Regions from separate parts of the Homo sapiens genome. Here all the other regions are linked to region 1. Evidence: promoter capture Hi-C in 16 types of primary human blood cells and fetal thymus (Javierre and others, 2016). All regions are on one chromosome and are shown on one strand. Each heading gives the region's core, a stretch centred on a gene start or on the middle of the fragment in contact. The rest is flanking DNA. Distances are from core to core; before and after follow the strand shown.

Evidence for each region. Contacts are between HindIII fragments. The CHiCAGO score rates a contact against its expected background, and 5 or more counts as called.
Region 2: a fragment that was not itself captured here is called in contact with the fragment with the promoter of PGM2 in region 1 in 7 of 17 cell types (M1 macrophages, M2 macrophages, naive B cells and 4 more); the score reaches 8.7 in M1 macrophages.
Region 3: a contact is called between a fragment that was not itself captured here and the fragment with the promoter of PGM2 in region 1, in 12 of 17 cell types (M0 macrophages, M2 macrophages, M1 macrophages and 9 more). The highest score is 13.7, in M0 macrophages.
Region 4: a fragment that was not itself captured here is called in contact with the fragment with the promoter of PGM2 in region 1 in 13 of 17 cell types (M2 macrophages, M1 macrophages, M0 macrophages and 10 more); the score reaches 12.0 in M2 macrophages.
Region 5: a fragment that was not itself captured here is called in contact with the fragment with the promoter of PGM2 in region 1 in 1 of 17 cell types (neutrophils); the score reaches 6.9 in neutrophils.
Region 6: a fragment that was not itself captured here is called in contact with the fragment with the promoter of PGM2 in region 1 in 1 of 17 cell types (naive B cells); the score reaches 5.8 in naive B cells.

The regions. Positions count from the first base shown.
Region 1 is chr4:37,824,604-37,829,478 of GRCh38, forward strand. PGM2 (phosphoglucomutase 2) reads left to right here and starts at 2,083. Exons shown (of 14, transcript NM_018290.4): 1 at 2,083-2,210. The coding sequence starts at 2,130. RefSeq lists enhancers at 552-721, 1,754-2,255, 2,256-2,755 and a silencer at 1,966-2,265. The HindIII fragment of the contact is 6,567 bases long and covers 1-4,875 here.
Region 2 is chr4:38,054,826-38,059,700 of GRCh38, forward strand. The region is part of intron 14 of TBC1D1 (TBC1 domain family member 1); the gene reads left to right. It overlaps LOC124900692, which reads right to left and starts at 1,324. Exons shown (of 2, transcript XM_047416508.1): 1 at 955-1,324; 2 at 1-164. The coding sequence starts at 1,141. RefSeq lists enhancers at 1-692, 2,755-2,924. The HindIII fragment of the contact is 8,507 bases long and covers 1-4,875 here.
Region 3 is chr4:38,036,236-38,041,110 of GRCh38, forward strand. The region is part of intron 8 of TBC1D1 (TBC1 domain family member 1); the gene reads left to right. Among named protein-coding and RNA genes, the nearest start is that of PTTG2, 78 kb to the left of the region's middle. The HindIII fragment of the contact is 2,082 bases long and covers 1,390-3,471 here.
Region 4 is chr4:38,017,693-38,022,567 of GRCh38, forward strand. It overlaps TBC1D1 (TBC1 domain family member 1), which reads left to right. Exons shown (of 22, transcript NM_001396959.1): 4 at 662-751; 5 at 2,899-3,003; 6 at 3,894-4,026. Among named protein-coding and RNA genes, the nearest start is that of PTTG2, 60 kb to the left of the region's middle. RefSeq lists an enhancer at 2,670-3,869. The HindIII fragment of the contact is 1,519 bases long and covers 1,649-3,167 here.
Region 5 is chr4:37,678,322-37,683,196 of GRCh38, forward strand. The region is part of intron 1 of RELL1 (RELT like 1); the gene reads right to left. Among named protein-coding and RNA genes, the nearest start is that of RELL1, 5.6 kb to the right of the region's middle. RefSeq lists an enhancer at 4,453-4,502. The HindIII fragment of the contact is 4,673 bases long and covers 1-4,447 here.
Region 6 is chr4:37,956,125-37,960,999 of GRCh38, forward strand. The region is part of intron 2 of TBC1D1 (TBC1 domain family member 1); the gene reads left to right. It overlaps PTTG2 (pituitary tumor-transforming 2), which reads left to right and starts at 4,274. Exons shown (of 1, transcript NM_006607.3): 1 at 4,274-4,875. The coding sequence starts at 4,311. The HindIII fragment of the contact is 1,258 bases long and covers 1,844-3,101 here.

The sequences.
Region 1 (4,875 bases), core at 833-3,332:
AAAAATAATAATAAAATAAAGTTGAAGAACATACGGAAAATGCACAACTCATAAGATTGCAGCTTAGTGAATATTACAAAGTCAACACACCTGTTGACCATCGTCCAGGTCAAGAAACAGAACAGTCCCGGAACCCCAGAAGGCACTTTCCCTCCTTCCCAAAGCTACCACTCTGCTGACATCCATAGGTTAGTTTTGCCTCCTTTTTAGTTTTTAATCTTAAAACTTAAAAAAAAGAGATATAACTTACATACAGTGAATTTTACCCTTTATATCGTACAGTTCTATAAGTTTTGATAAAAGTAAACCCCAAACTCAATCAAGATACGGAACAGTTCCACAACTCCCTCAAATTCCCTTGTGCCCTAGGTAGTCAACCCCTCCCCCAACCCCCAGCTCTTGAAAATCACTGATTTGTTTCCTTTACCTATAATTTTATATATTTCAGTGTTTTTTTTTTTTTTTTTTTCAGGGTCTCCCTCTGTCTCCCAGGCTGGAGAACAGTGGCACAATCAGGGCTCACTGCAGCCTCGACCTCCCAGGCTCAAGCGATCCTCCCTCCTCAGGACTCCCTCCAGCTCCCCCACCACGAAATAGCTGGGACTACAGATGAATGATGCAGTATTTTGGGGTGACGGGGTATGGGGGTGGGTGTTTGAACTCTGTCACTCAGTGTTTGTGAGATTCATTCATGATGTTGTGTATAACAGTAGTTCACCTGCATTGCTCTATCAATGTGCCATGATTTATTTATATGAATTGGTATGGATATACTACCAAGTATTTATCCATTGTATTGTCGATGGTCATCTGGGTTGTTTCCAGTTTGAGGCTTTTACAAATAATGCTGCTAGAAATATTCTTGCCCGTGCTTTTTTATGCTTATGGGTATGCATCTTCTTTATGGCTTGGTGATACCAGCGTCAGGAAGATGTGCTCCTATGTTAGTTTCCCTAAGTTTCACGCTACTATGGAAAGAGACCACCATTTCTGCTGTCCTTCCCAGCTTCTCCCCCACCTCCCCTTTTCCCTAGTTTATAAGACAGGAGAAAAGAGAGAAAGCAAAAAGTTGGAAAAAAACAGAAGTAAGATAAATAGCTAGACGACCTTGGCGCCACCACCTGGCCCTGGTGGTTAAAATAATAATAATAATATTAACCCCTGACCAAAACTACTGGCGTTATCCGTAAATTCCAGACATCGTATGAGAAAGCACTGTAAAACTTCTTGTTCTGTTAGCTGATGTATGTAGCCCCCAGTCACGTTCCTCACGCTTACTTGATCTATCATGACCCTTTCACGTAGACAGACCCCTTAGCGTTGTAAGCCCTTAAAATGGCTAGGAATTTCTTTTTCAGGGAGCTCGGCTCTTAAGACGCGAGTCTGCCGACGCTCCCGGCCGAATAAAAACCTCTTCCTTCTTTAATCCGGTGTCTGAGGAGTTTTGTCTGCGGCTCCTCCTGCTACACTACCTTTCGCACTTAGAGATACAATTGATCTGGAGTTCAGAGCTGTGTGTGATGGGAGGTAGGGGGCCAAGTTCCCTTTTTTCTTTTCCCTACGTGGATATCCCTTTGACCGAGCACCATTAACCAAAAATAGTTCCTTCCTGTGCTCTGCAGCCCCGCCTCTGAAATAAATTGTCCATACACGTGTATTTTTGTTTCTGGTCTCTATCTTATGTTCCACTGGTCTTCCTACTTTGCTTTTCTTTTTCAAGATTTTTTTCTGGCTGTTCTTGACCCTCTGAGTTTCTACATAGTCTTCAGGCCCCTATCTGGGTGCACTTCCTGGTATCCCAGCATCTGACATGTGCCTGGCGCGCAGCAGGAACTCACGGCTGGCTGTAGCCTGGATGCATCAGAGACGATGGCAAACCCTTCTCACACGTGCCAGGTTCCAGCAACCCACCCTAGCCCCGCAATTCCTCCTCGCTCACTCCCACCCCCTGCAGCGCACCCGCAAACGGCAAGGAGGCGTGCCCGCCGCGGCGCGCGTCACTTTCCCCCGGACCGACTGGCTCCGCCGCGGCTCTCCCCGCCCCCGCCTCCGCCTCCACGTCTTGGGGCCGGGCCGGAAGGCAGATCTCACCGCCTGCTTCCCTCTGCAGCGGTAGCACAAGCTCAGCGATGGCGGCTCCAGAAGGCAGCGGTCTAGGCGAGGACGCCCGGCTGGACCAGGAGACCGCCCAGTGGCTGCGCTGGGACAAGGTGAGGGGCACCAGCAGGCGGGGAGCGCCTGGAGCGGGGCCGGGTGCTCTGCCCTCTCCAGGCGCGGCGCTGCTTGCTCTGCCTGAGCTGCCTTCCCGCCCAGTGCATCCCGCTTCTCCCCCGGGAAGACCCAGGAGCGTACGGCCGCTGCTAGGCTTCCTTCGACCTGGCCGGCATGCGGCACGTTCAGAGTTAGGCCGGGAAGGCTTGTCCCCGGACGAAACCAGCCATCCGGCCGGCCGGACTGCAAGTTCGGAGTAGAGGAGCGAGCCAGGGTGGTGTAAGCGCGGCCAGACCCTGGACGCTGTCTAGTTGAGGGGCGCACGCCTTACTGTCACTCAGACCGCTGGCTCGTCGTCGGTAGTCGGCTGTGCATCCCCATGGACCCAGAATCGCTCCGTCCCGCGTATTCCTTTGGCCGCTGAGACCTTTGCAGAGCAGCGTTCTGGTCCGGTCCTCCCATCCCGAGGGCTTGGTTACAAACGTGGGTTGTCCTCCCGGGTGGGCCCGCCTGGCTTCAGGAGTCCCCCTTAGAACTTTGACTGCCAGGGAGGCACACCTGGGACACAGCACGGTTTTCTCTCTCTTCATTCCGTTTCTTAGAATCAGGAACCCAGCTCTGGACATCACTCCCTCTCCTCTCTATAAACTTGCGTCTCGCCCTTTCGACCTGTTCTGCTTGCTGTTAGGTTTTCTCGGAATGTCCCTCGCTGCTCTCCTGCTGAACTTGTTTCTCCCGTTGTGACTCATATTTTGTGCCTGAACTTAAATGTGGCTTACGTAGAGAGTCAGTCCTTCCTTGGCTCCGAAGCGTTAAATTATTTATCCCTAATATTCACTCTAAACAGTCTGTTATTTTCCTTTATAGCTCTTACTACAAATGGTAAAAACAAAAAACTCCAAAAACACTTGTTTGTAGGTTTGTTTAATGTCTGTCTCCAGGGCCGACTTCAGGGGCGAGAGACCCCTGCAGTCTCACAGGACTCGCGCTCCTTGAAGGGCCCACTGTTGTTTTAATGTCCTGCTGTCCTGTCTTGAAAGTCTTACTGGTAAAACAAGAGGTCACCCACTTTCATTGTGCACTGGACCTCCATAAATTATGTGGCCAGGCCTCTCTATTCTCACTACCTTGGTTTGTAGTGCCTGGCATAGGCATAGTGCATGACACATAGTAGGTCACTGAAATACTTGAATGAACAAAGAAGATTACAAGGTCAGTAGGGGTCAGGTCTTTGTCTTTATTTACCATTCTCTGGCCCCTACAAATAAAATGTCAGCAAATCCCATTTCCAGGATGCTATTGGCAACTCCTTGGGGGCGTTTTTCTTTTCCTGGGAAGATAACCTTGTGATTCACAAGGGAAGAAAAATGTTTCCATTTCTGATAACTTGTAGCTTGCAGAGTACAGAATTCTTTTGAAGTCAGAGTTCATAATGCACTTTCTCTAAGAAGAAGAAGAAAACAATCTAATTTCTACACAGTGTTGCATCTGTGTATAGAAAAATTGTATTTCTCTGGGTAGAGATGAGATGTCCTTTTTTTTTTTTAATCACTTCTCATGTTCTATCCTCTGTTAATTTCTTCTTTGCTTTGAGACTGGCACCTGAGAAGAAGCCCATTCATTCTCCAGTGAACCTCCCACCAGCTAAAAGCATTGCAGCCCTCTAGTCAGACTACCCCCGGCGACTGGCAAGGCGCCCTGGCAGGTGCCCTCTGTCTTTCCACCGTGCCTTCATCCCTGCTCTTTTCTCTGCTGTCAGTTTTGCTCACTGCCAGGGCTGATTCTGATCCTGCTGTACTCTTGACTTGTCATTCTTACCTGTCTGTCTCCTTTGTTTCTCTCAGGCTACTTAGTCTTTCATAGATATCAAAGACCAATTAAGATTTTCCAGACCTACACTATGAACAAGGGAGGATCACTCGATATTGAGTGTGGCAGTGAAGTCCATGTTTTCTGATTCACTCCACTAATATTTATTGAGGCTCTTTTATGAGCCTCTTTTATGTACCTGATCTGAGCCTTTCTTTGGGGCACCTGACAATCTGATAGGTAAGACTGTGTTCTGTAATTAGCATCTGCTGTTTTTCACCAAAAAAGATGGGGTTTACTTGATTCCCATTGAATCTGCCACAATCTGGAAATGTGGGCTTAATTCCAGAAAGCCAAGGTTTTATTGCAGTAGTATTTCAAAGTTTAATTAAATGGCCACGTCCTGCGTGAGTGCTCATCTAAATGGATAATGACTGTAAAACAGGAATATAAAGTCCTTCCTCTGTTGTTTTCCTGAATTCATAACTTAAAAGTCTCATATGAAACTAATGTGATTGTCATTATTTTTCTCCAACCATAACATTTTCTGCAACTACCATACAAAAAAAAAATAGGGCAATGTATAATGAACTTAAATGAATCATGTTAGCGTCTATTTGAAGCAGTTAATGTTATAGAAAAGGCACTAGATTAATGTTTATCTTGCAATTTAAGCAAGTCACCCAATCTCTGAGGCTTCCCCATCTATAAAATTGGGTTTCTGTTATTTGTCTACTTCTTGGAGATGTTACAATATTCAAACTTGACCAGGTATGTGAATGCCTGGTATGAATTATAAAACATTACAAAAGTAAGGTTTTGACTTAAGTTGTGTAATCTATCACTCTGGAAAAT
Region 2 (4,875 bases), core at 1,215-3,714, 230 kb after region 1:
GGGGTCTTGCGTTCCTTCTTCTCTGATTCTTCCCTTGGGGTGGGCTGTCCGCATGTGCATTGGCGTGCTAGCACACGGGGGTTGTGGGGGAGCGTGCGCAGGGTGTTTACTGGAGTTGTAGGCGTGCTCACTTGAGGCGTTCTTCCCTGTCCAGTCTAGCATTCCTAGAGGAACGTCATGCACCAGGTAAATTCCGCCATGTTGCCTCTTAATGCGCATGCTTGAGCCCACTCGCCCAGCTCCCGAGATCTTATTGGGAAGCTGCAGCTCCCCAGTTTTAGGTGTTTTCTATCTACTGGGAGCCCGCCCTTCCTTGGTGCCCGCTGTGACCAACGATCACTTTAGAGAAACAGTTGACAACTGCCTGACCAACACCTGATGGTCGCCTGACATTGCTGGTGCATATCTGGAAAGGGCCCTCTCCTGCCGTCCTCATGTCTGACGAGCTACCCGCTGTAACCAAAGCGTGGGCTTCGGAGTCTGCTTTCAAATCCCAGCTTTTCCCCTTAGGAGCTGTGAACTAGAATAAACTGTCTAAAGTTACCACCTATAACCTGGGATTAATTATGCCTGTTGCCACACTGATAGAGACAAGGCAGCATGATATCATTACTGATACATTTTTTTTAAAGCATTCAAAATTCATAGTACTGGAAAGAAAATCAGTGATGCGAATGTTTCCAGGGTAATGTCACCTCCCATGCTGTGGAAGTCCTTCGGGTGAGCCTGGCCCCTTGCTTCTTTTGCCCCAGCCTTTCTATGTGGGGGCACCATGGAGCTGCCACTCACCAGCACCTTTTTTCCCTCAAGTAGTTTGTACCTATAAAGTATTCCTGCCGTGGGTGGCCCCTCGGTGGAGCTGCTGAGCCTAGCCAGGGTTTGATTTCTCTTCCTGCCAGTGTGAGCCAGATGGCCACATCTCTCTTCCCCTGCCCCGTGGAGAGGTCTGCTTACCGCAAAGAAGGGCTCTTCCTCCCAGGTCCTGTAGCACCCTGTTAGAGGGTGTGGAGTGGAGCAGTGGGAACCAGAGCCACCAGAGGGAGGCCCTGGAGGAGGAACGAAGCTGATTCATGTCTGAAAGGGGTGCCAGAACCCAAGTTTCGGTGTTTAATAAAGAGTGCCTCGGTGTTGCGGTGGCCATACCTCACAGGGCATGGTCGCTTGGAAATTTCTGCTCGGAAATGCTTTGTGCAGTGGCCAGGATGCGTTAGGGGCCACAGATGACTGCTTGCTCCATCATAGAACAGTTCCAAGTTTTCAAACGAGCATTCACAGACTGAGCCGCATCCTGCCTCCCTGTCCTCTGATTCCTGGCTTCTTCTCTGGTCTCTGAAGCCACACGGAAATGTGTTTGCATCTGTTTCCTGCCCTTCAGATGACAGAGGACCATGGAAGCTGCTGCCTCCTTTAGCTCTCTTCTCCAGGGGAATTGCCCTCGTCACTGTTTGGGAACCCCTGGTCCGAGTCCTGTCCTCCGAAGAGCCTCTGCCCCTCCTGGAGTCCTGAGTTGAACTTGGTGTTCACTTGGCCTCTGGCTCTGGCAGTGTGTTGCTCCTTCCGTTGACCTGCCACTGCTCTGTTAATGCAGATTGATCTTCATAATCTGTTTCTGCTTTAAGTGATTAACTCAAACATTCTTGGCTCTTATTCTATCTTGTCCTTTGGGATATGAACCATTATTTAAATTTGGACTGGTTTCCTGGCTTGGCACAGTTGACCATGCCTGTAAGCTCAGTGCTTTGGGAGGCCAAGGCAGGAGGATCCCTGGAGGCCAGGAGTTCGAGGCCACCCTTGGCAACATAGTGAGACCCTGTCTCTACAAAAAAATAAAAATTAGCTGAGCGTGGTGTTGTGAAGCTGTAGTCCTAGCTACTTGGGAGACTGAGGCAGGAGGATTACTTGAGCCCAGGAGTTTGAGTTTACAGTGAGCTGTGATCACACCCCTGCACTCCAGCCTGGGCAACAGAGTGAGACCTTGTCTCGCGGGGTGGGGGAGTCATGTCTATACTTGAGAAGTTTTTTTCCCTCGCATAGTTTGTACCTATAAAGTATTCATCAGTTTTGAGCAGTCCTTTTGCGATTGTTTTGAGTCTTGAGTCTGGTGACCAGTAAGTTGTATATATTTGCCTGTCAAGTGGACAAACATGGCCTTTGTGCCTTTAAGTAATGGCTAAAAGTACCAAACAGAACAGGGCCTGGCATAGATGCTGCTCCTCCTGTTCCTAGGCCGTAATCACCCCTGATTCATCAGACCCCAAACAAGTCAGCTCCTCTCCCTCCTGTGCCCCACCACCCAATCTCCTGCAGGAAGATGTCTAGAGACCCCTGTCAGCGCTAGGCAGAGATCACCATCCATGTCCACCTTTCCTCTGATGCAGGTTCCCACTAGCCCCTCTGGCTTGTGCCATGCCAGCCATGAACTCACCCTCATGCCCCACCCGAGCCCTGGCACAGGCTATTCCCTCTGCCTGGAATGCTCTTCGTCAGTATCCCCATGGCTCCCTCCCTCCCCTTCCCTTGTATCCTGACTCTCCCATAGCAGCTCTCTCCCTGTAACACATGTTCACAGGTTCATCTTTGTCACCCATCTCCGGCAGCTCCTGCAGGCTTGATGGCTGCTAAAGGCAGGCAAGTCAGTGGCTCAGATTCTTGCAAACTTAGTGATTAGTGATTTCTCAACTCCCTCCTCATGCCTCCTCTGTCTCTATAGGCACATATTATTTCTTATCTCTTCTCAGAACCAAGCCGCCTGAATTTCTGAATAACATTGTTTAAGTGTTCTGTGTATGCAAAAGAAAAACGAGAATAAAAGGATTATTAAGGAAGAATTAATATAATAATAGCCACATATTATGCTCTTTTTATACTCTGCTAAGTGCTTTACATGAATTATTTCCTTTAATTAGACAATCTTAAGAACATCGACATTTTTATGAAGCCCATTTTACAGGTGGGTGAGTGGAGGCTGGGAGTGGCTTAAATCACTTTCCCCAAACCAGGGAGTTAGTGGGAGCCAGAGGCAGGACCTGAGCTCGCGGGTCTGAGCTCCAAAGCTCATTCTCTGAACTGTGCACAGCACTGGGCTGCAGCCAGAGATGCAGGACGCTGCGGGACCCTCTGGAGGTGGTCCTGCCTGTGCTTCCCTCTTCCCACAGGAAGCTCCCTATAGGCATCTGTGTTGGGCGTGGACTCTCAGTGTACCTGCATGTCTCCCTGTTGGCCAGACACCAACACTGAATGGAAAACATGTTTCTGGGCATTTTAATGTACGTACTTGCCTTCAGTCAATCTCCTCCGCCCCCTTCCATCCTGACCGCCTCCCTAATAGTTAGCAGTGGGACTGGAGCTTGAATGGCAACTGATTTCTGTCTGAGAGGACAAATCAGGCATCTTTGTCCTCTGCCACTGTCTGTTCCCCATCCTTAGGATGCACGATGCCAGAGCCCTCCACTGTGGTCTGTGACCACTTTGACCCACACTAGCAGGTCTCCATATGTTCCTTCCAGCTGAGAGACATCACATCCAAAGACAGTTTAGAGCTCTGAGGTTTCTTTCCCCAGAGGTCCCTGCTTTGTGCAAACTGTCTCCAGCCAAGCGTGCACAAGACTCTGTTCCTGATTTGCCTGGGCGGCTGAGCCATGGGCAGCTGAGCCTGCAGCCGCTGGACTCACTGCATTCCCACTCTGACTTTGGCATGAAAGACACACAAGTGTGCTTGTGAGAAATAGATCTTAACAGTACCTTTTAACACCTATTTCAGGTGCTCAAAATGACTGCCTGTTTTACATTTATATTCTGGCAGTGCAAACTTCAATTGGACAGGAAATCTTACAACCTCTCTTCCAGGTGAAAAAGCGAGGCAGGGATGTTTATACAGTTCCATCCATGTCATCCCACTTGGAAGATACTAGTAAAACACACCAACAGTAATACAAAAACCATGGTGTTTGCAATAGTGATAATGTTACTAGTGAAGGAAAAATAGAAACTTTCTGTAATTTGGAGATTCTAATTTTTATAGGTGGGCTAAAAAAAAAATCTGGAGAGAAGGGTGTTAAGTGAGTAAGGAGTGTGTCTCTAACTAAATATAGTGTAAAAAGAGAAGAAAATACAAAGTCAGGCACAGTGGATAGAGGTGGATAGTCTAATCTCTAATAGTATAATGGGCAAAATTGTCTCAAACAAAATTAGTCTGCCTCTTGTTTACTCAGGGATGTGTGACTGTTTTCTATGCACAAAATCCCCATGAAATAATTAAGTTGCAAGAATCTGAACTTTATATTTTGGAAACCTATCTGAGGTAGGTAGGAAGTTAATTTATATTTAGAAATTTGCTTGCATATGTCTAGTAGCTCCAGGACAAATATTCCCAAATCCCAGACTATTTTTTTTTCTTTTTAAATTCAACAGTGACCAGTTGGTCTCTTGTAAGAATTACAGCCTTAAGTTAGCAAAGTCTAAGAGGGCTGGTTTTAATCCTGAACCTCAGAGGGTCCCTGCTTCTCAAATACTAAGTAGGTCACGTGCACAGCAGGTACTACATTGAAGGGAAATTGTATGATAAATAGGAAATCAGCGATTTTTACTTGGAGACTTGGCAAGGCAAATGTTTTTGTAATAAAAATAGATCGTGAAATAGAATCCTGAAAGCTGCCTGTTTAAATGTAAAGCAAATGGCTTTAGTGATGCTTTAAGTGTGGCAGTCACTTCTGGCTGCCGCAGAAACTATAGAAAGTGCATTCTCTCTTGGTGCTGTGGGTTCTTAGGGTGAATGCCTTGTGTGACGCTGAGTATGTGGAAGGACCATTCATTCTTGGTAACTATACACTAGGCAGAGGGTGGCGTTAGCGAAGCTACTGCAGGTTGGGTGTGTTT
Region 3 (4,875 bases), core at 1,181-3,680, 210 kb after region 1:
ATTTAGCTTTTCTCTTTGTGGGGTCTCAAGGCAGAAGCTGGGGCTCTCTGCAGATCTCTCCCTTGGAAGATCTTCAGGTTTGGGAGTCCCTATGTTACATGGTACCACAGACCATTTCCTTTGTCTTTTGGACTCCATGTGAGTCCATTCATAATGAACCATTAATAGCTTCAAAACATACACATTTTATATTTGCTAAAGTTACCTGTTGGCCAGAAATCTAGAGAAAAATCAGTGAAGGATGTACAAGTTTCTCAGTTTCCCAAAAGTATGTTCCCTTTTTCTTTTTGAACACTCCCCACGTACGTGTTCCAAAGACACTTGTGTGCTCAGTGGTGTGCCCTGTCCTACGGCAGCCTTTGCGTCTGGACCCTAAACCAAGTGTGCAGTTTTCATGGGGTGTACACTTAGCAAATCTCCACATAAGGTTTCTACCTTCTAGGTGGCTTTGGCAGTCACGTGCCTTCCCTGAACACTTGGGCTGGTGTACAGTGTCAGCCACGGTTTCTAATCTCATTGGCCAGCCATGAGGTCCTTTAGCAGTGACTCTAACATGAGTATATGACCTGTGTTTTTTGGGGTTTTGACTTGTGGTCTTGGTTTGTAGCCATTCCTCCCTTCCCAACCTGTACCCTTAAGATAGCATTCAAGTTCTGTGTCTCTCCTGTTCATTTTTGGATGGACCAGTTGGTCTAAGTTTTCAGTTAATTCTGGAGTTCATTTTTCAGCCTATTTCTTTTCTCTTTTCCACTCCCTTTTTCCCCTCTTGTGCCACTGATAGCTTTTTCCCTGTTCTGATTTTCTTTTATCTGAGTCAGTCTGACTTGTTCCAACAGGAAATTGATAATTTTGAAGTAATTTATAACTGCTAGAAAGGGGAATGAAGCATTTACGGTGGATGGAAAGTCTTCTTTTACTAAACATTTTGAGCATTTATGGTGAATGGAAAGTTTTGACCTAACTGCAGACTCATTTTTATGGACCAGCATAATATTTTTATGATTTGGGCATAGATCATCCAATGGAGAAATGTGTTTAATGTTTTTTTTTTACCCAAAAAAACATAAGAGTTCAATGTAGAAGTGACTGAGCCTTACAAGCAGAACTGGCATCTGTGTAACACTTTTACTAGGGGTTTCTAAACATCATGAACCAGACGGCTCATGTCTTCGTCTATAAAGAAGCTGCCCTAATCCCCTGATGAGGTTGGTGTACTCCAGGCTGGACACTCTCATGGGCTCTGAGGAGTGGGTTTTTCAGAGCAGCAGCTGCTTTATAGACCCATTAGGCACAGCCTTGAGATTCACTGATAGATCCTTTTCATGTTTTCTGCTATCAGTTTAGCCACGTGGATTTCATTACCTTCTTGTTGCACCTAAAAATTTCTAAAGCTTTTGAAAATGTGGGAAGATGTGACATAGACCGTGGTAGGATCATGGCTTTGACAAAGAACTTCTCTGGCCACAGGACTTCAGAAGCGGACAGAGGACAGTGAGCGCTTCTCTCAGTGCTGTGCGTGTCAGGGTCGGCAGGGAGGCCATATGCGCTTTTCAAAGACCAAAAGAATAGTGCTGGAGAACTGTCAGAGGAGTTGTGAAATAGAAAAAACCCTGAATGAGTCTTTTGATCTTATAGAACAGGGTTCAGTTTGGGCAAGACTTATACATTAAGTTAGAGGCTGTCACGTTTTAGTCAATGGACTTGTCGTTTCCACCTGTATTCACAGAGGTGGTACAAAAATTAGTATGAAATCAGCTGCCACTTACTGAATGTTTGCCAAGTGCCAGATAGAGTTCTCATTCCTTACATAAATGACTCCATTCATTCTACAAGTTTTTTGAGGTAGGTGGTAAAATACCCATTTTATAGATGAGGAAATGGGGAAGAGCAGTCAAGCAGTTACTAGTGAGTAGTGGAGCCACTTTGTCTGATGTCTAAGTACTTTATCTTAATTATTGTGTGTTTTTTTAAGGAGCTTAACAAAATTTAATGCTATATAACTACTTACTGATTTTCTTGGGTCTGTTTTCTAGTAGATAAGATTTTCTTTCTTTTTTTGTGACATTTTATTATGAAAAATTTCAAACATATAGAAAAGTTGAAAGAATTATACCATGAGCACTCATATACCCACCATCCAGATTTTACAGTTTTAAAGACTTTGTTAATTTGCTTTATCATATATTTATCTATTAGTCCACCTTATTTTTGCATGCCTTTCAAATTAGGTGATATCAGTACCCTTCATCCCTAAACACTTTAGCATGTATATCATTAACTAGAATTTAGTGTTTGCTTCCAATTTTGGGGAGATTAAATTTACATATGGTAGGTTATGCAAATCTTAAGTGTACCATTTGTTGAGTTTTGACCACTGCTGCTACATTCAGGTAGCTCAAACCCCTATCAAGATATAGAATATTTTCATCCTGCCGGGCGCAGTGGCTCACGCCTGTAATCCCAGTACTTTGGGAGGCTGAGGTGGGCGGATCATGAGGTCAGGAGATTGAGACCATCCTGGCTAACACAGTGAAAGCTCGTCTCCACTAAAAATACAAAAATTAGTCAGGTGTGGTGGCGGGTGCCTGTAGTCCCAGCTACTAGGGAGGCTGAGGCAGGAGAATGGCATGAACCCGGGAAGCGGAGGTTGCAGTGAGCCGAGGTCGCACCACTGCACTCCAGCCTGGGCGACAGAGAGAGACTCCCTCTCGGGAAAAAAAAAAAAATTTCATCCTACCAGAAAGTAGCCCTATATTCGTCTTCTAGTCAGTCCTCACTACCCCTTCCCCCAGGTAACCACTGTTTTGATTTTTTTCACCTTAGATTAGTTTTGCCTGTTCTGGAATTTCTTATAAATGGCATCATACTCTTTTTTTTTTTTTTTTTTTTTTTTTTTTTTTGAGACAGAGTCTCACTCTGTCACCCAGGCTGGAGTGCAGTGGCGCTATCTTGGCTCACTGCAAGCCCCGCCTCCCAAGTTCACGCCATTCTCCTGCCTCAGCCTCCTGAGTAGCTGGGACTACAGGTGCCTGCCACCACTCCCAGCTAATTGTTTATATTTTTAGTAGAGACGGGGTTTCACCGTGTTAGCCGTGATGGTCTCGATCTCCTGACCTTGTGATCTGCCCACCTCGGCCTTCCAAAGTGCTGGGATTACAGGTGTGAGCCACCGCGCCTGGCCGGCATCATACTCTTTGAGTTCTGGCTCCTTCCACTTAGCATAACGTTTCTGAGACTCATCAGAAACGTTATGCTACATTGTTGCATGTATTAGTAGTTTGTTGTTGCATGTATCAGTTGCTTGTATCAGTAGTTTGTTCCTTTTTGTTCTGTGGTATTAATGTCAAGAGTTTCTTTCTCCATTCTCCTTCTGAGCTGCTTGATTATGAATAAGGCTGCTGGTAGATACATTGTGCCAGCCTGGGATGGTGAGTTCTGAACTGAGAATTTCAGTATAGCATCAGGATTTAAAGCTTGAATACTTGAATCCAAACTTTCATGCTTAGAGTTTACCCCATCTGTTGAAGGATGTGCAATATAATGACTGCAATAGAATTCACTGTGGAGCCTCCAAATTAGAAATTATTGTCTGTGAGGGCCAGGCACGGTGGCTCACGCCTGTAATCCTAGCACTTTGGGAGGCTGAGATGGGAGGATTGTTTGAGGCCAGGAGTTTGAGACCAGCTTGGTCAATATAGCGAGACCCCCATCTCTGTTTTTTTTTTTTAAAGAAATTATTGTCTAAGAACCAGTGTCATCTTCCAAGGAGAAACTTCTAGATACTTGTTTTAAGATAAATAAGAAACAAGTCATTTCTAAATGTGAATTATTTTTTAAATGCAATTTTTTAAACATTTTATTTTAATTATGGCAATAGACGTGGAAAAGACTCTTTTTTGATAGTAGGGGAGAGCAGAAGAAACATTGAATTAAGTACACAGAGATTCTTCAGACCTGCTTTAAAAACACATGCATACAAATGCACTTCTGTCTCTTAGGATCTACTAACTGATGCTGCTTGCTTTAGTCTTTTAGCTAATATTTTCTTTCTTTCTTTCTTTCTTTTTTGTTGGAGACAGAGTCTCGCTCTGTCGCCAGGCTAGAGTGCAGCGGCACAATCTTGGCTCACTGCAACCTCCGCCTCCCGGGTTCAAGCGATTCTCCTGCCTCAGCCTCCTGAGTAGCTGGGACTATAGGCGTGCGCCACCACGCCCAGCTAATTTTTGTATATTTAGTAGAGACGGGGTTTCACTGTGTTGGATGGGATGTTCTCCGTCTCTTGTCCTCGTGATCCGCCTGCCTTGGCCTCCTAAAGTGCTGGGATTACAGGCGTGAGCCACTGCGCCTGGCTCATATTTTCTTTATATATCAAAACAATTCAGCTTGCTTCACTTTTATGAAAGCTTTATTATGAGTTTGAAAGCAATTCTGCATTTTCTTAACATTGTAACTGGTGTTGAGTTGAAGGCAGGCCCCTGGGAGCCCTTTGTGGGCAATTCCCTTCACTCTGGAGGCTGCCTCGAGCCTGGACAGGCACTTACACTTGGTCAGTGATTGCACAGAACCGGTTGCAACAGATTCTGTGCACCTCCCTGTGGCGCGTAGCATTTAGCAGGCACTTGGTCACTATTTGCTGAGTGAGTCTGTTACCTTAGGCGTGTATTTCCCGTGGACCTGCCTGGGGATCATTGCTCATTCACTCATTTTGAACAAGCCAATATTACATGTCCAGGGTACGCTCTATAGTGTGAAACACAAAGGTAAATGATAGTTCCCCTTCTCAAAGGAATTTCTAAGGTAGTAGCCATTCTTTTGATGCATATTCTCATTCTCATAGAGAGTCCAATTATGGATAATTGGACAAAGCTGAATGTC
Region 4 (4,875 bases), core at 1,158-3,657, 190 kb after region 1:
CTAAAGCTGTAGAAACCAACACACACTGAAACCCAAGAAGCTTAGCGCTCCAGAGACGAGGAGTCTAAAAGGCAGCCTTTCACAGCCTGCAGGGGCGTGTGCACACAGAGTAGGTTGGGTATTGCAACACAGCAGTCTCCTATAATGCATGTCTATTAGCATGTCCCAAGGCAGTAAGAGGATTGTAATTGATGCTCATACTCTAACTTGAAAAGGTCCGGTCACTAGTGTATGTGAATGCCTCACATGTAATATGTACTAAACAAATGGTAGATTCTTTTAACAATAATTTAAAAAGACTTGTCAGTAAAAATCATTCAAAAGTATCTTGGAAGCTTTGAAAGAGTAGATTCTGTTTTCTGGAAGGTTCACTTATGCGGAGACCTCAGTTTTTAGGGGGATGTGTGGATCTTGAGGCCTATTGCTAACTTTTGGATATCTGGTTCTTTCATCTCAAGGAAGATGGCTGTCTTATCTAGGTGAAGGCACTAATAGATGTGTCTTATGACCTGAAATCCAGAGGATAAGAGGGGACCTTTGAAATGATTTCTACGATGATAGAGTCAGAATTTTATAGGAGCTTGTCCCTTTTATTCTTTATTTTCATAGGTCATGAAATGAGAAAGTTTGAAAAGCTAGATTTTTTTGTTTGTCTTTTAAGATTGGCCAGTCTGAAGTTTACCTCATCAGTCCTGACACCAAAAAAATAGCATTGGAGAAAAATTTTAAGGAGATATCCTTTTGCTCTCAGGTAAATGGAGATGGGTTTTTTTATTCAATTGCAATGGAATTTTTAAATGAATTTCTATAATATCTATCATGTAACAAATGCTAAAGGTTACAAGGTGTATGTTTTCTAAGTACTGTACTTGATTTGTGTTTCGCTTTTCTTCTTTGCTTTGGTATGTTAAGGTAAATTATGAATATAATTTTGAAATTAAGAAATTTGCTCTTAGCAACAGTAATGGACAAAATAGATCTACTTTTAATTTTCTCAGTTATTGGTAGTAATAATCCACAGTCATGACTTCCAGATGCACATGTGTGTGTCTTTGTGCATATTACACATATATATTTACACATTTCACACAAATATATCTTTTTATTAGATATATTTCTACTTTACAAAAATTTGTAACTTTTTTGGGTACCAATTGTCAGTATTCTCCCTTCAAATATAGATAGTGCTTATCTTTGACATATATATTTACACATTTCACACAAATATATCTTTTTATTAGATCTATTTCTACTTTACAAAAATTTATAACTTTTTTAGGTACCAATTGTCAGTATTCTCCCTTCAAATATAGATAGTGCTTATCTCAGAGTACAGTGTCTACTTGAAAACTTTTTTCTTGATAATCTTCCAGGTGTTTCATAGAGGGATTTTGGAAGAATCTATCAATTAAGATTAGCTGTGCCAGTTTTACTCAGGATCTTCCTAACAAATATGAGATCACTTAAGGTTATATTTGCTTTTTTTTTTAAACTCTGGATTTTTCATTTTCATAATTGATAAAATATGAAAATGTCAGTGTTGATTTATAATGTGATCTACTTAAATATTCAAAAGGGACTTTTCTGCAAAATGTGAAAATAAAGAATGTTCTTTACAGATTGAATAGGGAACCATTTACAAAGAAAAAGCTTTGCTAAATCATATTTCCTTAAGTGGTAGCCTTATGCTTAACTTGCTACTGGAGAAGATTAATTGAGATGGCAAAGCATGTTAATGATTGCTCATTTATTGGAAAATATTTGGCCTGAAAGTGAGATTACCCATAGAGTTTTTAATCCTGATTTGCTGCTATTTCTGTTGAAATATGAATGTTAAATGTTTACATTTTTGTGTGATAGCTTTATAATTTCCTAAAGAGTGTAGTTTACAAGTTTATATGATTACCTGAACATTAAGCTATCAGCACTCACATCTCTGCATGATGATGCTTTCAGAATACATTGATGTATTAATATTTATGGCAGACGTTTTATCTGTATTAAGGTGCCTCTGATAGCTGATGATTTTAAAACACATTTACATATTAATATTTATTAAAAATAGCTCTTATGATACCATGGTAGAGCCTTGGCCTAATATGTTTAAAAGCTCCTCTACTCTGTGTGCATGTAATTTTTGACTCTTTCTTTATTCCAGTTCACTTCAGTATTTACCTACTTATTTTAGGAATACAAATATATTTTAAATATTTTTTTAACCTTTGGGTGTGTATGTGCTTAGTTGTGTTTCTTCATGAATCTCTGGTCTGCCTTTGATTTTTTGAGTGGTTTTTATTCTTTAATACCTATGTCTCAAACAAAACAACAAACAAATACTAAAATGAGCACTAAAACTTGAATTTTCAGATCTTATTTTTCTTATTGTTGTGGGAGTAATCAAAGGAACATTCTAGTAAACCAACTTTATTTGAGATGTTTTTAGACTTTTTGAAATTTTAAAATATCAGAGAAAATAGTAATTTCCTAGTGTTTTTTAAAATTGTGCTGTGTAGGCCAGGCGCAGTGGTTCACGCCTGTAATCCCAGCACTTTGGGAGGCTGAGGTGAGTGGATTACCTGAGGTCAGGAGTTCGAGACCAACATGGTGAAACACCATATCTACTAAAAATACAAAAATTAGCCGGGTGTGGTGGTGCATGCCTGTAATCCCAGCTACTCAGGAGGCTGAGGCACGAGAATCACTTGAACCCTGGAGACAGAGGTTGCAGTGAGCTGAGATTGTGCCATTGTACTCCAGCCTGGGCAACAAGAGTAAAATTCCATCTCAAAAAGATAATAAAAAGTAAAATAAATTGTGCTGTATAAATCTTGAGGTGCATTTCTGAGGATGGTGCGTCTTCTGGATACAACTGAACATCTCGTTCTCTCCCTTTGGCAGGGCATCAGACACGTGGACCACTTTGGGTTTATCTGTCGGGAGTCTTCCGGAGGTGGCGGCTTTCATTTTGTCTGTTACGTGTTTCAGTGCACAAATGAGGCTCTGGTGAGAGAGGACAAGCAATTCTTACCTTGGAACCTTCTTTACAAGGAATTTTAGCTCCACTGATTTTTCTGTCCTTAGGGAAAACCAGATGGTCATTGACATATCATTATTTGTCTTTAGTTATTTACTTATGACTATTTAGTAAGCAGCTAATACACATCTGAAGCTTAATTGGCTGTGCATTTTATATTTTTTATTTCTGAAGAACTTGTTTAGTGTCACCTTCTGGTCTAGCATTTTACAATGTCATTTTAGACATCTGATCAAAGGAGTTTGCCTTTTTTCTCAGTAGTTTGTATTTTTAGTTTTTACTGTATCAGTCTGTTCTCACACTGCTAATAAAGACATACCTGACACTGGGTAATTTATAAAGGAAAGAGGTTTAATGGACTCATAGTTCCACATGGCCAGCGAGGCCTCACAATCATGGCGGAAGGTGAAGGAGGAGCAAAGGCACATCTTACATGGCAGCAGGCAGGGCAGCGTGTGCAGGGGAACTGCCCTTTATAAAACCATCAGATCTCGTGAGATTTATTCACTATCATAGAACAGCACAGGAAAGACCCACTCCCATGATTCAATTACCTCCCACTGGGTCCCTCCCATGACATATGGGAATTATGGGAGCTACAATTCAAGATGAGATTTGGGTGGGGACACAGCCAAACCATATCATTTACCTTACCTGCTTTAAGAGCTTTGAGCATACTTGTAGTATTTTCAGACTGTAATCCTAGCTGTTATTCCAATTATTATCTGTCAACCTGTGAAGAGTAGTACAGAAAACTCTTAAAGCTTAAAAAATCTTTTCCAAAGATTTTCTGACATCTCAGCCCAGCTAATTTCAAATTGACTTTTTGGTGACTACAACTTCTCTTCTCTTTGATTAGGTTGATGAAATTATGATGACCCTGAAACAGGCCTTCACGGTGGCCGCAGTGCAGCAGACAGCTAAGGCGCCAGCCCAGCTGTGTGAGGGCTGCCCCCTGCAAAGCCTGCACAAGCTCTGTGAGAGGATAGAGGGTGAGTAGGGGACCCTTTCCAGCATGAACACAGTGGGAGTTAAAGGTCCCAGGAGAACTTTAGATGATACTCATCTGTTGGAAGATTCTGCCTAACAGAGGCTTGTATTAGTCACAGGGATTGTAGGTGGACTCTCAGTGTGCAGTGGGTGTCTTCTGTATGTCAGGAATTGTGCCGGATGCTGGTGATACAAAGATAAGAACCCAGAACCCCCTTCTGCCACCTCCCTCCAAGGTATTCTGAGGATGGAGGAGGAGTTAGGGAAACAGGTTACCAAACCGGTTGCCTAGTGTTTATCAAGGTTGTGTGAGTGGTCAGTCATACTGGGCACTGCAGAGATATCTAGAAAGATAAGAACTAAGGAACTTGTACCAGTTTCTCCATTACAAGGTCATTAGTAACGTCTGCTAGTACAGTTTGGATGGAGAGGAGGTAGCAGAAAACAGGTTGCAGTTGAGGAGCAAATGGGAAGAAATCAAAGAAACGGTGACTATTAGTATTGACCAGTATTTCTAGAAACCTGGCTTAGGGAGAAACTGTAATAAATGTTATGATTTGTAGCTAACGTGTATTGAATAAGATCTGCCAGGAAGTGTATTAGGTGCTTTCTGTTATCTATTTAATCCTCATCACATTTGTGGGAGGAAAAGGGACTATTTATTTTGCACATATTGCAGATAAGTAAATTGAGGATTAGAGATGTCTAGGAATAAACTAGTGTATAGTGAGCCCATGATTCACCCCAGGCGGTAAAGCCCTGTTACCTGCCACCAACCATTTCCAGGAGAAGGCCATACTGGAGAAAGACCTGGGGATTGCAGCTAACTTTGTCTTTTTCAGAATTGGAGG
Region 5 (4,875 bases), core at 861-3,360, 150 kb before region 1:
TGGGGATTACCATTCAACATGAAATTTGGGCAGGGACAAATATACAGACTATATCACCTTATAAAGGTAATGCTTTCCTTCCTTCTTTGCTTAGTTTTGGTGGCTAATGGCTCTGCCCCACAAATCCCCTGCCTCCCAAGAGAACTCTGCCAAGCCCATCAGACCCTACTCCTTCGGGCACTGCCCAACATCCCCTCCTCAAAGCCCCCTCTGCCCTTTACACAACCAGCACCCAGGGCTCAGGAGCAACAGGTGACAGGAAACCCCTCAAGTAATGGCAGAGGCCCAAAAAGGAAAATTCTGGAGTGGTTAGGAACTTTGTCTCATTCTTTAGCTGTGATAGGTTAGTATCTGGTTTAGCCTAGGCAATAATAATAATACACTTTTTCATCACTTACTGTGTGCCAAGCACTCACTAGTTTTATCTTACATAACTGACACAACAATGCTATGAGGCAGCTCAGCCATATTCTCTCTATAATACCGATAAGGAAAGTAATTTAAAGATTTTTTTTCTCTCTGTACAACAGGCACTTTTATTAGTGGCTGGAATGCAGTTATCCACAAGAGTGCACAAACAAAATGGGAGAGGAGGATCAGGTAGGGCTGGCAGCTGGCAAGGGAAATGGGAGATACCTGGCTGGCGGGTTCTCTCTGTTTGAGATCCTGGGACAGTGCTATCAAGTAAAGAGAAGAAGCCGGGGGCCTTGGGGTATTGCAGGTGGGAATGGAAAACCAGGTCCTCTGAGTTCAACAGGTTTGGCAAAAGGATCCCCAAGGTAAGATGTCCGGCCCCTCTACCCATCCATCCTCCAGAAAATCCCTTGGGTAGATTCAGTTTCTCTTACAAAGAGAACTGTGTTAGTAACTGGCAAAAGAAAGCAGAGGAGAAATTTGGCCCAAACTCTCCATCTAGCCGACAAGTTTCCATTCTAATTGGCACCCATTCATAAAGTCACTTGGAATAAACAAAATCTTAGTTTTTTGGGGGTACCCTTATTTTCTTAGATTTCACACTAGAGTACCAAAGTTGTACTTCTTTTTCTGAAGTGTCACTCATTTGAGGACTTATTTTCCCCATTGGAAATTTTGCTACTTTGAGCAGTTTTATATTTGCCTCCTAACAGACACAAATAAATGAGTCACAGAAGCGAAAATGCAGGACCATAATCCCTTATCTGAAAACCTGGAAGTCAGATGTGCTTCAAAGTTCAAACCTTGTGATTTTAGGAAGGTAATGCAATGCATTTAGCGCACAACCTGTAACACTCAAATCAAATTCATTAATATTATTCAGCAGAACATGCAAATAGTCAAGATAGAATAATATATACCATAGAACCACACATTAGGCTGGGTGTGGTGGTGCATCCCTATAATCCCAGCACTTTGGGAGGCCGAGGTGGGTGGATCACATGAGGTCAAGAGTTCCAGATCAGCCTGGCCAATATGGTGAAACCCCATCTCTACTAAAAATACAAAAATTAGCTGGGCGTGGTGCATGCCTGTAATCCCAGCTACTCGGGAGGCTGAGGCAGGAGAATCTCTTGAACCCGGGAGGCGGAGCTTGCAGTGACCCGAGATCACACCACTGCACTCCAGCCTGGGAGACAGAGAGAGACTCCATCTCAAAAAAAAAATTAAAAACCTCACATTAGTTCAAGTTAAGTTTTACAACCTACAGAGGGTATCAAAAGCCTACAAGAAAAACTTGTTTTCAGAGCTTTTTACATTTCAGAATTATCCATAAAGGATTACACACTTGCAAATGGCTCAAAAACTAGAAGAAAACAAAATCAACCTGATAGTTACCAACCATGTACAAATTAAAACAATCAAGGTACCAATTTTTGCCTAACAAATTAGCGAATATGTTTTTCAGAGAAAATAACAAGAATATGAAATTGAGTCTTTTTGGCTATTGCTGTGAGAATGTAACCTGGGATGACCTTCAGATCAACACTGATGTCATCAATTGCCTCAAAAATGTGAACATCTTTGACCCTCAAAGTGCCTTTTCAGGAACCCATTTTCTGTGGAAGTCCTCTGATATTTAGGCAAAGTTTCATGCACAGAGGCATTCATTGAAATGAGTTTTAAAACTCACTTAAAAATAATGAGCAACTGAAATCTCCCAAATAGATACATAGAAGTAAAATACAGTGAATCCATATAGTGGAACAGTAGGCAGCCCTTTTTTGGGTGTATAGGGAAATAGAGAAACATTTCTGTGTAACATAAACTGAAAAAGTCATGATACAAAGTTATATTGCATTATGAACCTATCCGAGTTAAAAATGCAATTAAAGAACCTATGCGAGTTAAGAACGCAATTACAGGCTCATGCCTGTAATCCCAGCACTTTGGGAGGCCGAGGCGGGCGGATCATGAGGTCAGAAGATCGAGACCATCCTGGCTAACACGGTGAAACACTGTCTCTACTAAAAATATAAAAACAAAATTAGCCAAGCATGGTGGTGGGCGCCTGTAGTCCCAGCTACTTGGGAGGCTGAGGCGGGAGAATGGCATGAACCCTGGAGGCGGAGCTTGCAGTGAGCTGAGATCGCGCCGCTGCACTCCAGCCTGGGTGACAGAGCAACACTCCATCTCAAAAAAAAAAAAAAAAAAAAAATGCAATTAGAGAAGACCAGAATGAAATATGCTAACAATGGCTAGTGCCTTGGAGTAATGGAATCAAGGGTGATTCTCGCTCCTTCCTCCCACAAACTTTAGATCTTTGGGGAAATTTTCCAAAAATACCTAGTGCACTGTATTTTAGCTAAAGGGAAATGAGAAAAGATGGCTTGGCTACTTAACTCCTATGCAACAGTAGCAAACTCTAATCTGAGGTGTCACTCTGGGCTTTTTAAAAATCCCTATCATTGCAAAGCTATCACCACCTCCAGAATAAAAACTGTTTAATATATGTGGTCCACATTTATTTGACAGTTTAAATGACGTAATATAAATCAAGCCTAATGCGCACTCTGGAGAAAAAATACTATATTTTTTAAAGATACACAGGATAAAAGATATATGCCACTTTGCCATTTACCCAGAACTTTCAGAGACAAGAGCTCAGTAAGACAGAGCAGCCAGTAGGACAGAGAGACAGGTGTTGGCACAATGCCCATTTTACAGGTGAGGAAATGGAGGTGGACAGAACCATATGCTGCAGGCATCAGGGTCTCCTTCTGTTTTTTTTTTTTTTTTTTTTTTTTTTTTGAGACGGAGTCTTGCTCTGTCACCCAGGCTGGAGTGCAGTGGCACGATCTCAGCTCACTGCAACCTCCGCTTCCCAGGTTCGAGTGATTCTCCTGCCTCAGCCTCCCCAGTAGCTGGGACTACAGGCATGTGCCACCACATCCAACTAATTTTTGTATTTCTAGTAGAGACGGGGTTTCACCATATTGGCCAGGCTGGTCTTGAACTCCTGACCTCGTGATCTGCCCGCCTTGGCCTCCCAAAGTGCTGCGATTACAGGCGTGAGCCACTGCACCCGGCTTCCTTCTGATTTTTGACTTCAAGTCCAAGGCCCTGACTTAAGGCTTGGTGCTCTTTCCACCATAGCATCCCATGACCTTGTTACTTACTGATTCTTTACAAATATGTTAGAATAAAAAGAATTTTCTTACTCAAAAAAATAGTTTAGTAATAATAAGCATGGACTTCAAAATCAAACAGATCTGACTCAATGGACTCCATGACAAAATCCAGCTTACACATGAGTGACTTTTTCAACTTCTCTGAGGCTCAATTTCCTCATCTACAAACACAGGAATAAAATTATGTATATAACTGACAGGAAATTAATTGTAAGAATGAAATGATCTAGGTATTTAGACTACCGCCTGCACACAAACCAGGTAATAATAAAAATTGAATTCCTTTTTCCTAAAAGAGTAAAGTGTCTACAGTGTACTAACACCAAATTCTGATTTTAGTTTTTATAAATCACACCAGAATTATTAATATACCCGCTTTCAGCAGCACACCAAATCTTTACAACCACTTAAGTGTCCGAAATTATTAGGAACCACTCAACCTAATAGTTTATACCAATGACAATTTAATTTATTCTTTTTGTCAGCTTTAAATCATTTCTCTATTGTTTCAATAAGTCATTAAACTTCAACATTAGGGCCAAAGAATCATTTTTAAAGAAACAATAAAATCTGTTGTTTGTTCACTTGGGGCTTTGGTCTCTCACATTCAAATTCAACTCTTCAAATTTCCAAATAGATTCATTTCATTTCCATTTTTAGAGGGGGTAGGGGCAGGGAATTGACAGAGACTTCTCACATTTTTCATTTCCTTTTAAAATTAAATGTAGATATGGACTCCCAAGCTCCAAGGTGTGCTTTTTCAAAACTTTCCAAACACTATATATTATGTGGATGTACAGCTTCGCAGCTACCTGGCTAAGAGAGACCCCAGAATTTAATAAAGCTTATCTTTAGTTTCTAAAAAGGAGTCAGAATGCTGGAGGGAAGCCTGCAGCCCAAGGACAATGCATTTTTCATCTCACCAGCCCCAGGACCTCTTCCACCCACTCCTTACTCGAGGGCTATGCCCACTGTCTGAGAGAGAAACTAATAAACCTGAAGGTTGAGTAACCAGAGAACTTAAGGACATTAATAAGCCAAGACGTGGAAAATCATCCCTTTGGGTGCTTGTGGTATATAGTTTCGAATGCTGCTGCTAAGAGACAAGTTTAATGAGATTCTTCTACTAGGAAGGAAGTGAAAAAGGCATTGCCACTACCCACCGTGAAGCTATCTGCCCTTCTTTTCTCTACTTGACAACTTCTGATAACCACATGCTTACAATTTTATGACGTTCTAAACTATCTTAGAATCTCAGCGAGATTGCAGA
Region 6 (4,875 bases), core at 1,223-3,722, 130 kb after region 1:
CAAGCCATCCTCCCACCTCAGCCTTCTGAGTAGCTGGAATGACAACCGGCTAATTTTTGTATTTTTTGTAGAGATGGGAGCGGGGGTTCTCCCTGTGTTGCCCAGGCTGGTCTCGAACTCCTGGACTTCAAGCGATCACCCATCTCAGCCTCCCAAAGTGTTGAGACTACAGGCATGAGCCACCACACCCGGCTTAATGAACTTCTAATACACTATGCCATTTAAAAATTTGTTTCATTCGTTGTCTGACTCTCTTTTCACTAGGATGTAAGTTTCCCGAGGGCAGGGGTTTTGGTTTGTTTTGCTCACAGATGTGTTGCCACAGACTAGACAGTACCTGGCCCCCAGTAGGTGCTCAATACATATTGAATGTGAAGTGAATAAACTTCCAGCAGACTATCCTCATTGTGCTTTAACACATTTAAAATGACCAAATGGCTTTTCCCTGTACTTCCATTCTGTGTCTTTTCCCCTTGACCTCATGTGATATGCTCAGGGACGCCAACTAATGTTAGTATTAACTTAAGAAAAGTGGAGTGTAGCCGGGCACAGTGGCTCACACCTCTAATCCCAGCACTTTGGGAGACCGAGATGGGCAGATCACTTGAGGTCAGGAGTTCAAGACCAGCCTGGCCAACACAGTGAAACCCCATGTCTACTAAAAATTAGCCAGGTGTGGTGGAGCACACCTGTAGTCCCAGTTACTTGGGAGGCTGAGGCACGAGAATCACTTGAACCCAGGAGGTGGAAGATGAAGTGAGCAGAGATCGCGCCACCGCACTCCAGCCTGGGCAACAGAGCAAGACTCCGTCTCAAAAGAAAAAAAAAAAAAAGAAGGGAGTGTAGAAATGAATTTCCCCCAAAGAAGCCACTGATGCATGCCACGGTGAAACTTAAAGAATTACTCCTATCCGGTCTTTGGGATTATCTGCACCATGGCCTCCCTCCCCTTACAGGAAGGATCAAGCTGACCACATAAACATTTAGACTCCCTACGTGAGATGGGAGAACATAAGCCCCTCATGAGTTTGTATAATACTCATGGCCACAGTTACACAATGTGGCAGACGTATCTCTTCCTTTCCAAAAGAAGGAAAGAGACAAATGTATGATACCTGATATGACACATGTTTTCATTCTTCACAATCATTAAAGTAATAAATAACACTACTTTTTAGAGACAAGGAATTTATCTGTTGACAGGAATATGTATTGCTGGGCACAGTGGCTCATGCCTGTAATCCTAACACTTTGGGAAGCCAAGGCAGGAGGATATCTTGAGCCCAGGAGTTCAAGACCAGCCTGAGCAACACAGCAGGACCCCTCTCTACAAAACATAAAAAGATTACCTGGGCATGGGGGTGCGTGCCTGTAGTCCTAGGTACTCAGGAGGCTGAGGCAGGAGGATTGCCTGAGCCTAAGAGTTCGAGGCTACAGTGAGCTATGATCACAGCCTCAGCAACAGAGCAAGGTCCTATCTCTTAAAATAATAAAAATAAAAACAAATAAATAAATAATATAGAAAGAGAAGAGAGTTGAGATTCCAAAACAGTCTTTCTGACTCCAAACTCCATTTTTATCCTACACCACTTTTTCATAAAAGTTCAGAACAGATTGTTTGATGTTTTTCTTATTGCTCATTATTACTTTTTAAAAGGTCAATTCTGACATGTGATTTACATTTCCTGACAAACTACATATCATTTTCCTCCCTCCCTTCTGTCTTTCCTTCCTTTTATTCTTCCATTTATAATGCAACAGATGATAGTTTTTCATGGTGTCCTGTAGGTAGTGTATTTTATTTTAAAATACCAGATAAAATTATCAGCAGCCACTTGTGGAAAGCTTCACTGGAAAATATTACTTCAACCATACTTATATGTTTTTTAAAATGCTATTTTTGTTGATCTCTGCTTAGAACAACAGAAACACAGATGGCTACAGTTACTGGATTTGCTGCCAGTTTTTATGCCCCTTTTCTCATATACGTTTATGGCGACCAAGTTTACTTTCAAAAACATATGCTAAGAATAGTAACACATTTTTCAGATTTGAAGTTGTCTAGGAAAAAAGTATGCTTCATATTAAGAAAGAGTCTGTAAGATCAACAAAGCAGATTCATCTCCTAGAAAACCCATTCTCTGAGCAGGCCATTTTCATCTCTAACCAATAAACACCAGATTCCTTAGCTTGGCAATCAAGAACCTTGACCATATCTGGTCCCAGATGATTCTTCATATTTTTTATTTTTGTTCCAAGATGGTGTACTCTATTTTCCAGCAAAATGGGACAGTTAATTTTTCCTCGTAGCCATGCTTTCCTCTGTTTTGTTCATTGTTGTTTCTTTTGCCTGGGGAGATTTCCTCTTCTTTTACTTAAGCATTCCGTCTCTCCTAGCTCCTTCTCTTACTTAAGCATTCCATCTCTCCTAGCTCAAATGCCACCTCCTCCAGAAAGTGTTCCTGGATTAGATTTGCTTTCACACCTCTAGACCTCCTTTATTTGTCCCTTCTTTAGGACACATATATGACATCTTTTACTTTAATTATTTCTGCCCCAATTCAGAGTACTATTAGAAGGCTGTTAATAAAAAATGAATGTGTCGGAAGAGTTGAAAGAAGTTGTTTAATAATAATTCCTGCTAATGGTATAATGAGACAGGATTACAGACAGGTGGCCTGCAAACTTTATTGTAAAAGTTGCCTACCATAGTGTTTGAAGAAAAACAATTCAATTGGAATGCCTGCAGATTGGCACACACACTCTACCCCACCAGTCTCCCCGTTCCCCATTGTCTTCCACTGGCACATCATATATTTACATTCCCTCACTGACTCTGGGTGGCACTTGAATTTACAAGCTCCATATAGAGGTTACATCAATCAGTTGATATACCAGGTCCAAGTCATGGCTCTGTCACTTTCTAGCTAGCTGTGTCAGGTTAAGAGCAAGACTTCTAATGATACCTTTGAATGGCCCTTTGTATTTGAGGTGGCCTTATGCAAATAAACAGGCACAGTTGACCCTTGAACAATGTGAGGGTTAGGGGCGCCAATCACCTGCATAGTCGAAAATCCACCTATAACCTTTGACTCCCAAAAAGCTTAACCGATAGTCTTCCGTTGACCTCACCAATAACACAGTCGACTAACATATATTTCGTATGTTTTATGCACTATATCCTGTATTCTCACAATAAAGTAAGCTGAAGAAAATGTTATTAAGAAAAATCATAAGGAAGAGAACATATTGCATTATTCATTAAGTAGAAATAGATCATCATACAGGTCTTCACCCTCATTGTCTTCACGTTGAATAGGCTGAGGAGGAGGAGGAAGAGGAGGGGTTGGTCTTGCAGTCTCAGAGGTGGCAGCCGCAGAAGAAAATCTGAGAACAAGTGGATCCATGCGACTCAATCCTGTATTGTTCAAGACTCAACTGTATATTTTTGCATATGGGCTCAAATACGTACGCACATATGTCACTGGGTCAAAGATTCATAGAATGAATTAGACAACAAGAATATTTATCATTGAATTGAAATGGCTCACTGCAAAAGTGCCCTCAACTTATCTCTAGGCCTTAGAAACAGAAGTGACCCTTTGCTGCTGTGAATCAATAGCCTGGACTAGATTGGGGTTGGGTTGGCAAAGGTATATAGTCATTGCCATAGTCCAGTATTCCTGCCCAAGCAAGCACCATTAGTAGTCACGTTGCTCAGAGAGGGCCTCTCGGCTCTCCCCACCACTGCATGCTGGATTGTCTGCCACCAGTAGATCAGAGTTGGCAAAAGGGATAACTCGGGATGAAACATTTGAGCATTTTGCAGTTTAGAGAAACTTCAGGGGTGCTGCTTTAGTAAAAAATGGAAGACTTGCATTTATTAAAGGTTAGTAAGAAGTGAAATAATGTATGCAAAAGTACATTATAAATTAGAAAATGCAATAACGGCAGAAACTATTTATTTATTGGTTGCTCTGCCCTTTACCTAAGTGGTTTTTGACCATTTAACAATGTGTAAGAGTTGGGTTTTACCTCCATTTTATGGATGTGGAAATAGGGCTTGGATGTTAGCTAACTTGCCCAAATCTTACAGCTAACAGAAAGTGGTACTCCCGAGATTCCTACCCAGGTTTGTCTGACCTCAGGCCTGTGCTCTTTATATGAGTTCATGCTAACTCTCAGATGATGTGCTAGGCACAAAAATTAGATATTACACCAATTTCCACTATAGTTAACATTCTATCTAAATATAAAGTGGGACCACGGTCTTAGATGAATGTGGCTGTTGAGAGCGGCAATAATCCAGAATGGCTACTCTGATCTACGTTGATAAGGAAATTGGAGAACCAGGCACCCGTGTGGCTGCCAAGGATGTGCTGAAGCTGGAGTCTAGACCTTCAATCAAAGCATTAGATGGGATATCTCAAGTTTTAACACGACGTTTTGGCAAAACATACGATGCTCCATCAGCCTTACCTAAAGCTACCAGAAAGGCTTTGGGCACTGTCAACAGAGCTACAGAAAAGTCAGTAAAGACCAATGGACCCAGAAAACAAAAACAGCCAAGCTTTTCTGCCAAAAAGATGACCGAGAAGACTGTTAAAACAAAAAGTTCTGTTCCTGCCTCAGATGACGCCTATCCAGAAATAGAAAAATTCTTTCCCTTCAATCTTCTAGACTTTGAGAGTTTTGACCTGCCTGAAGAGCGCCAGATTGCACACCTCCCCTTGAGTGGAGTGCCTCTCATGATCCTTGATGAGGAGGGAGAGCTTGAAAAGCTGTTTCAGCTGGGCCCCCCTTCACCTGTGAAAATGCCCTCTCCACCATGGGAATGCAATCTGTTTGCAGTCTCCTTCAAGCATTCTGTCGACC